Regions from separate parts of the Homo sapiens genome. Here region 2 is linked to region 1. Evidence: promoter capture Hi-C in 16 types of primary human blood cells and fetal thymus (Javierre and others, 2016). All regions are on one chromosome and are shown on one strand. Each heading gives the region's core, a stretch centred on a gene start or on the middle of the fragment in contact. The rest is flanking DNA. Distances are from core to core; before and after follow the strand shown. Region 1 holds the start of CNN1 (calponin 1). Region 2 holds the start of ZNF625-ZNF20 (ZNF625-ZNF20 readthrough (NMD candidate)).

What was found. The method cuts DNA at HindIII sites, captures the fragments that hold promoters and counts their contacts. A CHiCAGO score of 5 or more calls a contact.
Region 2: a contact is called between the fragment with the promoter of ZNF625-ZNF20 here and the fragment with the promoter of CNN1 in region 1, in 2 of 17 cell types (neutrophils and total B cells). The highest score is 6.9, in neutrophils.

What each region holds. Positions count from the first base shown.
Region 1 is chr19:11,534,111-11,540,480 of GRCh38, forward strand. It overlaps CNN1 (calponin 1), which reads left to right and starts at 4,741. Exons shown (of 7, transcript NM_001299.6): 1 at 4,741-4,880. The coding sequence starts at 4,818. RefSeq lists silencers at 1,839-1,908, 1,919-2,288, 5,717-5,766 and an enhancer at 3,712-4,657. The HindIII fragment of the contact is 23,519 bases long and covers 1,012-6,370 here.
Region 2 is chr19:12,153,508-12,159,701 of GRCh38, forward strand. ZNF625-ZNF20 (ZNF625-ZNF20 readthrough (NMD candidate)) reads right to left here and starts at 3,224. Exons shown (of 8, transcript NR_037802.1): 1 at 3,049-3,224. ZNF625 (zinc finger protein 625) reads right to left here and starts at 3,227. Exons shown (of 4, transcript NM_145233.4): 1 at 3,049-3,227. The coding sequence starts at 3,051. RefSeq lists a silencer at 2,744-2,913 and enhancers at 2,890-3,581, 3,144-3,253. The HindIII fragment of the contact is 6,672 bases long and covers 1-5,018 here.

The DNA.
Region 1 (6,370 bases), core at 3,491-5,990:
TTGGCCTCCCAAAGTGCTGGAATTACAGACACGAGCCACTGCACCCAGACTATAAGTGAACAGCTCCCTCCCTGTCCACCCACTCACAGTCAGTCTGGGGGTGAGAGATGCTATTATTTTACAGCAGGTGGTCAGGGAAGGCCTCTCTGAGAGGTGATATTAGAGCAGAGACTGAATGAAGTTGGGGAGAGGCCATGCAGGCATCTTGCAGAAATGTGTTCCAGGTGGCAGGAACTGCTATTGTAAAGACCCTGAGGTGGGAACATGTTTGGGGACTCAAGAAACACATCTGTAGCCCAGCGTGGTAGCGGGTGCCTGTAATCCCAGCTACTTGGGAGGCTGAGGCTCCAGAATTGCTTGAAACCAGGAGGTGGAGGTTGCAGTGAACCGAGATCATGCCACTCCAACCTGAGCGACAGAGCGATACTCTGACTCAAAAAAAAAAAAAAAAGGAGAAGAAGAAGAAGAAATAAGGAGAAGGGAGAAGAGAGAAGGGAGAAGGGGAAGAAGGAGAAGGAGGAGGAGAAGGAAGAAAGAAGAAAGAAGAAGAAGGAGGAGGAGGAGAAGCAGCAGCAGAAGAAGAGGAAGAAGAAGGAGAACAAGAAGAAAAAGAGGAAGAGGAAGAAGAAGAGGAAGAAGAAGGAGAAGGAGAAGGAGCAGCAGCAGCAGCGGAAGAGGAAGAGGAAGAAAAGAAAGAAGAAAGAAGAAAGAAGGAGAAGGAGAAGGAGAAGAAAGAAGAAAGAAGAAAGAAGAAGAAGAAGAAGAGGGAGAAGAAGAAGAAGAAACAGCACATCTGGAGGGACTTGGAAGAAAAGGTACAAACAGTGTTACCTGGGAGGGTGGCTTGGCTTCTCTGAACCTTGAGTTTCCCATCTATAAAATGGACCTATGAGTTTCTACCCTCAGAAGGTGATGGTGAGGATTAAAAGAGATTGTGGCTGGCATGGAGTGAGTGTTCCCATAACAGAAGCCTTTAGGAACAAGAGCCTCTGCCAGATTTCTGGATAGGAAAGCTTCGTGAGGAGGGAGCTTGCAGAGCAGGATGCCAAGATAGGCCGGTGCAGAGCAGGGCTTTGACTTTCCCCAAAACACACAGACAAACACGTGTGAGTGTGGGTTTTATTTTTATTTTTACATTTTTTGAGTCAGAGTCTCACTCCCGTGGCCCAGGCTGGAGTGCAGTGGTGTGATCTTGGCTCACTGCAACCTCTGCCTGACATGCCGGGTTCAAGCAATTCTCCTGCCTCAGCCTCCCGAGTAGCTGGGATTACAGGCATGTACCACCATGCCCGGCTAATTTTGTATTTTTAGTAGACACGGGGTTTCACCATGTTGGTCAGGCTGGTCTTGAACTACTGACCTCAGGTGATCCACCCGCCTTGGCCTCTCAAAGTGCTGGGATTACAGGCGTGAGAAACCACGCCCGGCCAAGTGTGAGTTTTAAATGGTTCTGAGCATCAGGAAGGTTTTAGGGGGTCCCCTGAAGTTGAGGAGAGGCATGGCTTTCCTACAATGACTGTCCTAGACCCTTCGGGAAACCGTGCCTCTTACAAGATCCTACACTTCTCATTTAGATGGTAAACTGAGGCACAGAGGGGCTAGAGCCTGGAAAATGCCAGAAAGGAGCGAATAAGGGATGACACTCGGGTGTCTACTGGGATTGGGGCCTCGATATGGGATCAGCCCCCTCTAATGCCTCTACCCCCATCTACCAGACAGAGACGCGAAGAGAGACGGACAATACAGCGACAGCGACATGAAGAGAAACAGAATGACTCAAAGACCAGGCACAGAAACAGAGACACAGAGACAAAGGCAGAGACAGAAAAAGGCTCAGCGACCCAGAGACGGAGATACAGAGACACAGACCTACTACAATCAGAGGGACAAGGCAGTCCCCGAAAGGGCTGCCCCCTGGGGGTACCCGGGGCTGCCCCGTTGGGGGGCACGCCAAGAGCTCCCCCACCCCGCCCCCGTCGTGCCTGGGCCGTGACTTCAGAGTCCGTGCAGATTCTATAAATGGCCAAGAGGCCGCGGGCCGGGGGGCGGGGCCGAGTGAGTCATCGCGTGACGTCACCGCCGCCTGGACCTCGCCAGGTCCCGCCCCCGCCCCTCCCGGGCCGCCAGGGGGCGCCGGCTGCAGGTCCTCACATGCGCAGTAGCGAACTGCGGCCCCCGAGGGCCGCTCAGTTTGGGAGGGATCCAGGAATCTGCGCGTTCGAATCCCGCCCCTGCCACCCTCGAGCTGTGTGACCCGGCCATTCGGCGTCACCTCTCTGTGCCTCGTATAGACCCACCTCATAAGGCTGTCGTGAGGAATGAGTTAACAGGCTCAAAGCTCTTAGTACGTAGCAGGTGCTAATTGTTAGCTCATTTTATGTACTTTCTATTTTTTCTTTTTTTTTTTTTTAAATAGAGACGGGGTCTCGCTATGTTGCCTAAGCTGGTCTCGGGTCTCGAACTCCAGGGCTCAAGCGATCCTCCCGCCTTGGCCTCGTATTTTATGTATTTTCGTGTATGTTCAACATATCATGACATGCCATCAACTAGCACATTGCCTTAGCTCAGTGGTTGGCAAACAGGGGTGATCTGCTTCCACCCCGACCCCAATCATGGGACATTGGCAATGTGTGTAGACATTTCTTCTTTTAATTTTTCTTTTTTAGAGACCATGGTCTTGCTATCTTGGCCAGATGGTTCTCAAACTCCTGGGCTCAAGGGATCCTCCCACCTCAGCCTCCTTAGTAGCTGGGACTACAGGGTCCTGCCGCAGTGCCTCAACATTTCTGTTTATTAGGACTAAGAGAGTGCTACTGGCATGTAGCAGGTAGAGGCCAGGCATGCTGCTTGAAGTCTTACAATGAATGCCCAAGGCAGCCCCCCAACCATGAAGAATTATCCAGCCTCAGCTGTCAACAGTGTGGAGGTTGAGAAACCCCACCTTAGCCTCATAGTTGAGGTTCATGGAGCATGGTCTCAAATTCTCCTCTGCCCCTGGCCTGCTGTGTGACGCTGAAAAAGTGATTCCAAGCCCCCGTGCCTCAGTTTCCCCACCTGTAAAGCAAAGTACTTGTATTAATAATAACAGTGTCAGCTGGGCACGGTGGCTCACGCCTGTAATCCCAGCACTTTGCAAGGCCGAGGTGGGCAGATCAACTGAGGTCAGGAGTTCGAGACCAGCCTGGCTAACATGGCAAAACCCCGTCTCTACTAAAAATACAAAAAATAGCCAGTCGTGGTGGCAGACACCTGTCATCCCAGCTACTTGGGAGGCTGAGGCAGGAGAATCGCTTGAACCCAGGAGGTGGAGGTTGCAGTGAGCCGAGATAGCATCACTGCACTCCAGCCTGGGGAATAGAGACTCTGTCTCCAAATAATAATAATAATAATAATAATAATAATAATAACAGTGTCCATCTCTGAGGGCGTCATGAGAATTGAATGGATATATGTACAGAGTTGGAACATGGCCTGACATAAGGGCTGTAGTCTGTGGCATATTGCAGCCATGCCATTAGCATGTGACCGATAAACTGCATATCCTCAACATATCATTAGTGTGTGGCAGGTTGCAGACATGTCATCCAAGTGTCACAAACATGGCCTTGCCATGTGGGGCATGATGTGGGCATAGCATCCACCCCTGTGGTCCAGGGGTGAGATCTGGCTGGGTAGGGCTGTTTGACAGGGACACAGTTCACGGCCTGGGACTTGCCAACAAAGTCACCCTGTAGTTCAGGTGACACACAAGTGGATGGGGAGGGTGAGACCCAGGATCTCTTCTCCCCCAGGTCCTTATGAGGGGCTGGAGGAGACAGAACTGGGGTGCTGGACCCTCAGCATAAAGAATGCTATAGGCTGGGCATGGTGACTCATGCCTGTAAATCCCAGCGTTTTGGGAGGCCAAGGCGGGCAGATTGCTTGAGCCCAGAAATTTGAGACCAGCCTGGGCAACATAGCGAGACCCCGGGCAACATAGCGAGACCCCATCTCTAAAAAAATAAAATAAAATTAGCCAGGTTGGTGGCACAAGTCTGCAATTCTAACTACTTGGATGGGCTGAGATGGGAGGATCACTTGAGCCTGGGAGGTCAAGGCTGCAGTGAGCTGTGATTGTGCCACTGCACTCCAGCCGAGGGGACAGAGTGAAACCTTGCCTTAAAAAGACTGCTATGGCCCGAGTCCCTCTGCTGTGCCGGGCACTGTGCTGGGCATGTAACAGGCATATTCTTCTGATCTTTACAACTCTCCCATGAGGCAGGCACTATCGTTAGCCCATTTTACAGATGTGGCCATAGAGGCCCAGAGAGGAGAAGGGGCTTACCTAAGGCTATAGACTGTTGGTATCTGGAGATAAACCCGGGATGGTGCTCACTAAACTACCTTGGGTGTCAGTCCTGCTTCAAGACTCCAGAGAGATAAAGAGAGATGACCTCAGAGACAAAGAGACTCAGACCCAGCCAGAGGCCCAATGGACAGTGGGAGGGGTGGGTGGAAGAAGGCTGGTCTCTGTCTGACCAAGCCCCCCCAGAATAACGCAGGCTGCCCCCCTAGGTGGAAACAATGACACAATCAGCTCCCAATACCAAGGGCCTGACATCACAAGGGGAGGGGAAGGCAGCTGAGGTTGTGGGGGGAGGTGCCCCGCCCCTTGGCAGGCCCCTACAGCCAATGGAACGGCCCTGGAAGAGACCCGGGTCGCCTCCGGAGCTTCAAAAACATGTGAGGAGGGAAGAGTGTGCAGACGGAACTTCAGCCGCTGCCTCTGTTCTCAGCGTCAGTGCCGCCACTGCCCCCGCCAGAGCCCACCGGCCAGCATGTCCTCTGCTCACTTCAACCGAGGCCCTGCCTACGGGCTGTCAGCCGAGGTTAAGAACAAGGTAGGGCTGGAGGGCCTCCCTGGCCTGGCCCACACGTCCTGCCAGGCCAGAGCCCTGAGCTTGGGGTCCCTTGAACCCCCTCCTGCCTATCCTATGTGACTTGGAAACTGAGAGGGGAAAAGGGAGTGATATGGGATAGGGGCTGCCTGTCTCCCCCTGAACATCCCGGAGCCCCCAGCTATGGTTGGGGCTGGAATGGGGGGGCACACAGCCACACATAAACAGAGGGGGTCAGTCCATTGCAAAGATACCCACCTGATCAGTCTTCTGTTAACCCTTCGTGTTCTTGGGGGGAACAACATAGGGGGAAGACTTGTTGATTTTTCCATATCCCCCGGCCTGACAAAGAAATTGGGGAGCGCTTGAGTGCTGGGGTACCTGGGAAGTGACGCCGTGAAAGTGTGGGAGATCCTGAAGACAGAGGGGGACGGTGAAAGGCAGGAAGCGGGCATCAGAAGTGCGGCAGGGGTCTCCTGACTGTGGAGCTAGGAAGATACCTGGACACCACCTTCATGCTATGGTTGGGTAAACTGAGGTTCGGAGAGGAGAGGCAAATAGCTGGGGTCCCAGGTAAAGCAGGTACAGCGCTCGGACCCTGGACTCACCCCCCATACACCAGGATGGGCTCAGCTTCTCCCAGCTGGAGAACTTTAAGTTTCCAGCCCACTGGAATCGCCCCAACAGTATTGCCGAGGGAGGAGTTCCTGCCCCATTTGACAGAGGGGAACACTGAGGCTCAGGGTGGCTTTTCCCAGGGTCCCATGGTGAGGAAGTGGGGGACTGGGTTGGAACCTGGGTCGAGGGATCTCGGGGCTGGAGGAGGGGGCTGGTGGGGGGCGGGTCCTCGGGCGAGAGACAGATCCCAGCGCCGCCCTCCTCCCCCCCAGCGCCGGCCCCAGAGCCGCGCAGAGCCGCGCAGAGACGCCGCGCCTTATAAGGCGGCCTCGGGGAGCCCGGGCCACGCTATATAAGGGCCGGTTTGCTTTATAAAGCCGGGCTGGTGGCGTGGGGGGCGGCAGGGCCAGGGCCAGGTGAGGGGGCCGCCCCTCCCACCTCCCCCCACTCACCCGGGAGAAGAAGAGGCAGCCCGGTCCCCTAGGGGCTGGGAGCCTGGCTGGGCTTGGGCGGAGGGTTCTGGAGAAATGGGAGTGGAGTGGGGGAGGGGGGGGACAGTGGAGAGAGGGAAAAGCAGGGAGGTGGGGGGAGAGGCAGACAGAGATACTGGGAGCCTGAGACACCCTAGGGACAGACGGGGGAGGGCGAGCCAGGAGCGAGATAAGACCTAGACAAGGATGGAGGGGCAGGGAGAGGAGACAGAGCCCCACCACCCCCACCCCAGGCAGGAAACCTGGAGACAGAGAAAGACCTAGAGAGGCAGATATACAAGACCCAGGAGCCCTACCCCTGGCCAGACAGGGACTAGCCACCTAGAGAGATGGGGACCCAAGACTGGGCCAAGAAAAGACAGCGCTGGGGAAGAGAGAGACAGA
Region 2 (6,194 bases), core at 1,974-4,473, 620 kb after region 1:
AACCCTGTCTCTACTAAAAATACAAAAATTGCCGGGTATGGTGGCGCAGGTCTGTAATTCCAGCTACTTGGGAGGCTGAGGCAGGAGAATCGCTTGAACCTGGGAGGGGGAGGTCGCAGTGAGCTGAGATTGTGCCAGTGCACTCCAGCCTGGGTGACAGAGGGAGTCTCTGTGTCAAAAAAAAAAAAAAATACATGCAGTGATTCTGGCAGGCATATAGACTGTCACTGCCCATACCGGTGTACAAACTGAGGCAGAAATACAAAAAGGCAAAAGACTTATGTTAGTTTTATATTTCTTTTTTTTTTTTTTTTTTTTGAGACGGAGTCTTGCTCTGTCCCCCAGGCTGGAGTGCAGTGGGGTGATCTCAGCTCACTGCAAGCTCTCCCTCCCGGGTTCACGCCATTCTCCTGCCTCAGCCTCCCGAGTAGCTGGGACTACAGGCACCTGCCGCCATGTCCGGCTAATTTTTTGTATTTTTAGTAGAGACGGGGTTTTACCATGTTAGCCAGGATGGTCTCAATCTCCTGACCTTGTGATCCACCCGCCTCAGCCTCCCAAAGTGCTGGGATTATAGGCGTGAGCCACCCCGCCCAGCCCTTACCTATATTCTTTTGTAAAATATTGAAAATGCCTGAACAGAGCCAGGAAGGGCCTCTTTTCTCTTGATCTTCATTATAGATTAACTTTCCTCTTACCTTTCTCACACAAAGACTTCATGGCCATCACAGTGTCTTAAGCTGGAATGTCAAATTTGATAATGGCTCACTGCAGCATCAAACTCCTGGGGTCCAGTGATCCTCCTGCCTCAGTGTCCCTTGTATCAGGAACTACAGGTGGGTGCAACCACACCTGTCTAATTTTTCTATTTTTCTTTTCTAGACATGGGTCTTGTATTACCAAGGCTGGTCTCCAACTCCTGGTCTCAAGCAATCATCCTGCCTCAGCCTCACAAAGCTGGGATTACAGGTGTGGGACACTGCACTAGGTCAAGAGTTTAACTTTTAGCTCCGGAGTTCTAAGCCCATTTCCCTAGAGTCTGTATTTTCTTGAATGGCAATTCTCAGATTTTCACTTAAATAATCTCCTTATAATAGGAATCTGATCATTTCAATCATTTAAGGTAGAAAAATCCAAACAAGGCGACTACATCACTGTAACCAATAAAGTATTTTTTGATTTTTATTCTAATGCACCATATAAAAGCCTATCCTTCAACCTGTAAACTAAAAATAAAAACCTAAGCTCCCCATCCCACCCCAATCAAGTCAACTGAGTGGCTCTTTACCAAGGGGAGGCCCCCCAAAAACCTGAAAGTTCCCAGTTACATTAGTAAGGGAGATCAGACACTCCATACTCCCTTCTGGAGTTTAGACACAGCAACTGACCCACATTCATATTAAAATAGACATAAGACCTGCAAAGAGGCCGGGCACAGTGGCTCAGTCCTGTAATCCTAGCACTTTGGGAGGCGGAGGGAGGCGGAGGCAGGCGGATTATTTGAGGTCAGGAGTTTGAGACCAGCTTGGCCAACATGGTGAAACCCCATCTCTACTAAAAATACAGAAATTAGCCGGGTATGGTGGCGTGCACCTGTAATTCCAGCTACTTGGGAGGCTGAGGCAGGAGAATTGCTTGAACCTAGGAGGCGGAGGTTGCCGTAAGCCGAGATTGCGCCACTGCACTCCAGCCTGGGCGAGAGTGAGGCTCCATCTCAAAAAAAAAAAAAAACCTGCAAAGAAACCCTTTGTACCAATAAATACTAAATTGCAAACAAGACCTAAGGCCATGCAAGGCAAGGGTAAAGTCACGCCTTAGAATTCATAAAATCTAGTGAAACATATCTGTTTTTTGGTGGGGATGGAATCACGTGGCAGGTAACAGACTCCCTTCACTTAAACATTCCTTCCTACCCCTTTCAAATTTTAGACACAACTTCACACTCTCAGCCAACTGCCAACTACAGAATCCCTCAACCACCTGTGCCTTCTAAGCCCCGCTTCTACGTGTCCTGCCCTGTCAGCCTTCCATGCCTTGATTGATCTTTTCCCTGCAATTCCTGTCTCGCTGAAATGAATAAAACCAAACTGCCATCGAACCTCCTGGGGACCACTTACTCGAGGCTACATGCGGTTGTTTCCCTTGGTCACGTTCTCTCATATTCGGCGTAGAACATAGTTCAAGTTATTTTGCAGAGTTTTGCTCTTTCCGTTATCAAACTGCAAGCCATGACTGGGTGTTTCTCATTCAGGAAACATTTCTCATTCATTTTTTTCAAACTCCTATTCTGAGAAGCAAAACTCTTTAATTTTTAAGAGGACTCAGTTTAGTTTGTTGCTGTTGTTTTTGTTTTGTTTTGTTTGAGACAGGGTCTCGCTCAGTCGCCCAGGCTGGAGTGCAGTGGCGCGATCTCGGCTCACTGCAGTCCCAATCTCCTCCCTCAAGCGATCCTCCCACCTCAGCCCCCCAGTAGCTGGGATTACAGGTGGGCGGCACCACGCCCGGCTCATTTTTTAAAAATTTATTTTTAATAGAAACTAGGGTCTCGGTATGTTGCCTAGGCTGGTCTCGAATTTCTGGGCTGAAGCAATCCCCCCGCCTCAACCTGCCAGGCGTGACCCACTGCGCCTGGCCTTCAATTTAGTTTTTCAGGAAAAAAGGGGGGACTGGGGACCCCGCAGCCCACCGCTCCTCCCACACGAACCACACACCCGAGGCAGGATTGCCTCCATGACCCTCCCGTGGTCTCCGCACAATCTGGGGAGACGCGGGACTACGGGCGCGGAGCTCCCCAGAGAGGGCTCCGGGGCCGGGGCCAGGGCCGGGGTCGCAGTCGCAGCGCAGAGACGGGACAGGACGCCTGGGGTCCCGGCTGCCGGCCCAACCCCACCCTGCGGCCGAAGGGACCGAGGGCCGAGCTACGCCAGGGGGACTCCGCTCTGCAGACCCGAAGTCGCTGCAGGAAGGCCTGGGTCCTGCTAGAGCCGGTTCGAGCCGGTTCCTCCCGGCCCCTCCCCCGTCTCGGGACCCCCGGCCCCGCACACTCACCATTTCCCGGCTTCCAGGTGTCCTGGCCTCCTCTCCACGGATCCCTCTAACAGTCCAGTCACAGTGCGGGCGATGGAGCGACAGAAGCTATGGCGGAGGCACCTGGTCCCTCTCGGGGCCGGAAAACCGAGATCCCGACCTCCCTTTGGTGCAAGACGCCTGGGAGTCAGGAAAGCGGGAATGCGGCCTCCCCTTCCCCGGATGGACAGTTGGCAGGACCCCGCCCCAGCGCCCCTGATTGGATGAGGCTCCAGTCCCCGTCCCATCGGTCCTGAGTGACAGCGGAAGCCCTGGGTAACAAGGCCCGGCAGAACCGAAATGACCTGTTCCAACCACAGATTATCTAAGCGAGCTCCCTCCCTGCGTCTTGCTCTTTGGGTATTTGCATTTCAGCCAAATTTGCTCCGAATTGCTAGAGGGGGTACCGTTGTCTTCCTCACTCAATGGGCTGTCCCTGCTCCTTTGTCTTGCACAGGAAATTCCAGACTCAGAGTCCAGTGGAGGTGAAGGAAATTAAAATATTTTACGCCAAAATATATTTATTTGACAGATTTTGAAATGGCTGTGGCTCGGCCGCAAAAAAAAGTGGACTGGCAAAGCTGTCTTTGGAGGGGGGGAATTTGCATCTGCAGAGAATCTCCATTGATGAAACCATGCCCTCTCCCCCTTTATTTCTTTCCCTTTATCCAAGCTAGAAGAGATTGTGACCTGAACACAGGCAGGGTGCGGTGGTTCACGCCTGTAATCCTAGCACTTTGGGAGGCCAAGACTGGAGGATCCCTTAAAGTAAAGAGTTAAAGACCAACTTGGTCAACACAAGAATACCCCTGTTTTGTTGTTTTTTTTTTTTAATTTTTATTTATTAAACTTTAAGTTCTAGGGTACATGCGCACAATGTGCAGGTTTGTTACATATGTATACATGCGCCATGTTGGTGTGCTGTACCCATTAACTCGTCATTTACATTAGGTATATCTCCTAATGTTATCCCTCCCACATCCCCCCACCCTAGACCCCTGTTTTTATTATTTAAAAATCTTTACGGCCGGGAGCGGTGGCTCACGCCTATAATCCCAGCACTTTGGGAGGCCGACGCGGGCGGATCACGAGGTCAGGAAATCAAGACCATCCTGGCTAACACGGAGAAGCCCCGTCTCTACTAAAAATACAAAAAATTAGTCGGGTGCGGTGGCGGGCGCCTATAGTCCCAGCTACTCGGGAGGCTGAGGCAGGAGAATGGCGTGAACCCGGGAGGCGGAGCTTGCAGTGAGCCGAGATTGCGCCACTGCACTCCAGCCTGGGCGACAGGGCTAGACTGTCTCAAAAAAAAAAAAGAAAGAAAAAGAAAAAGAAAATCTGTGAAGGTCAGAATTAGAGCAAGACCCATTTGGGATGCCTCCTGGAGAAAGGGTTTATGAATTTTTATTTATTATTTTATTTTATTGTATTTATTATCATTTTTTTTGAGACGGAGTCTCGCTCTGTCGTCCGGGCTGGAGTGCAGTGGCGCAATCTCGGCTCACTGCAAGCTCCGCCTCCCGCCCGGGTTCATGCCATTCTCCTGCCTCAACCTCCCAAGTAGCTGGGACTACAGGCGCCTGCCACCACGCCCGGCTAATTTTTTGTATTTTTAGTAGAGACGGGGTTTCACCGTGTTAGCCAGGATTGTCTCGATCTCCTGACCTCGTGATCCGTCCGCCTCGGCTTCCCAAAGTGCTGGGATTACAGGCGTGAGCCACCGCGCCCTGCGGGTTTATGAATTTAACAGTAAATTTAGCTTAAACTGACTCAAGTCGAGAGCTTCCTGTTGGTGAAAATGAAGGTCTTAAAGGAGAGAATAATTTCTAAACTGAGGAGGGGACAGAAGGGCATTTCAAACTCCCAGATAAATCCTTAATTTTCTCTGCCTCATCATCTGGGACTGACCCGCCCTGGGGGGCTCCATTTCAGCAGTCACAGTTTGGCTTCCAAGCTTGGAAATATCATTTACCTTCTGACAGAGGGTTTTCCTTGTGAACTGTGCATGAAGCAGGCTGCTTATCTGAACTACTTCAAATGTTTGCTTTACTTTTCTTTTGATTCCTTTATAAAATATTGCTGCCGGCTGGGCGCGGTGGCTCACGCCTGTAATCCCAGCACTTTGGGAGGCCGAGGCGGGCGGATCACGAAGTCAGGAGTTCGAGACCAGCCTGACCAACATGGTGAAACCCCGTCTCTACTAAAAATACAAAAATTAGCCGGGCGTGGTGGCACACGCCTGTAATCCCAGCTACTCAGGAGGCCGAGGCAGGAGAATCGCTTGAACCCGGGAGATGGAGGTTGCAGTGAACTGAGATTGTGCCACTGAACTCCAGCTGGGCGACAGAGCGAGACTCCGTTTCAAAAAAAAAAAAACATATATATATATATATATATATATATATATATATATATATACACACACACACTTATATATGTGTTTGTATATATACACATATATGTGTATATATACAAACACATATATAAGTATATATATACACATATATGTATATATATGTGTATATATATAGCTGCCATATAATTCCAGCTTTTCCATGCACTTAGTTTTATTCTGTTGTTGGCTTGTTGTTTTCTTGAGTGAAAATGAGTAGACTGAGAGATAAAGTATGAAAAATCTTTGGCTATCCCTCATCCCAAATTTATAATCTCTGACGACATCAGGCCTCTCTCCTCTTCCAGTGTTGGCCTGACTAGACCTCAAGGCAGACAACCTCCCCACCTCAAACCCCCTCCCCCCACCCCCACCTCCCCTGAAAGAAGGGCCCACTGAGTACAGGAAGACAACAGTGTCAGCTCTGGAAAGCCTGAAACATATTCTGAAATACCAGTATCCCCAGGGTGGGGGCCAGGCTGCAGTGCAAGGAGGAAATCCGGCTGTGGCTAGAATCTATATTTTTCTTTTCTTTTCTTTTCTTTTTTTTTTTTTTCGAGACAGGGTGTTACTCTGTCACCTAGGCTGGAGTGCAGTGCGCTGATCATAGCTAACTGCAGCCTCTACCTTCAAGGTTCAAGCAATCCTCTTTACTCAGCCTGCTAAGTAGCTGGGACTATAGTTGCAGGGCCACCAGGCTGGGCTAATTTTTTTTTTTTTTCTTTTTTTTTTAGAG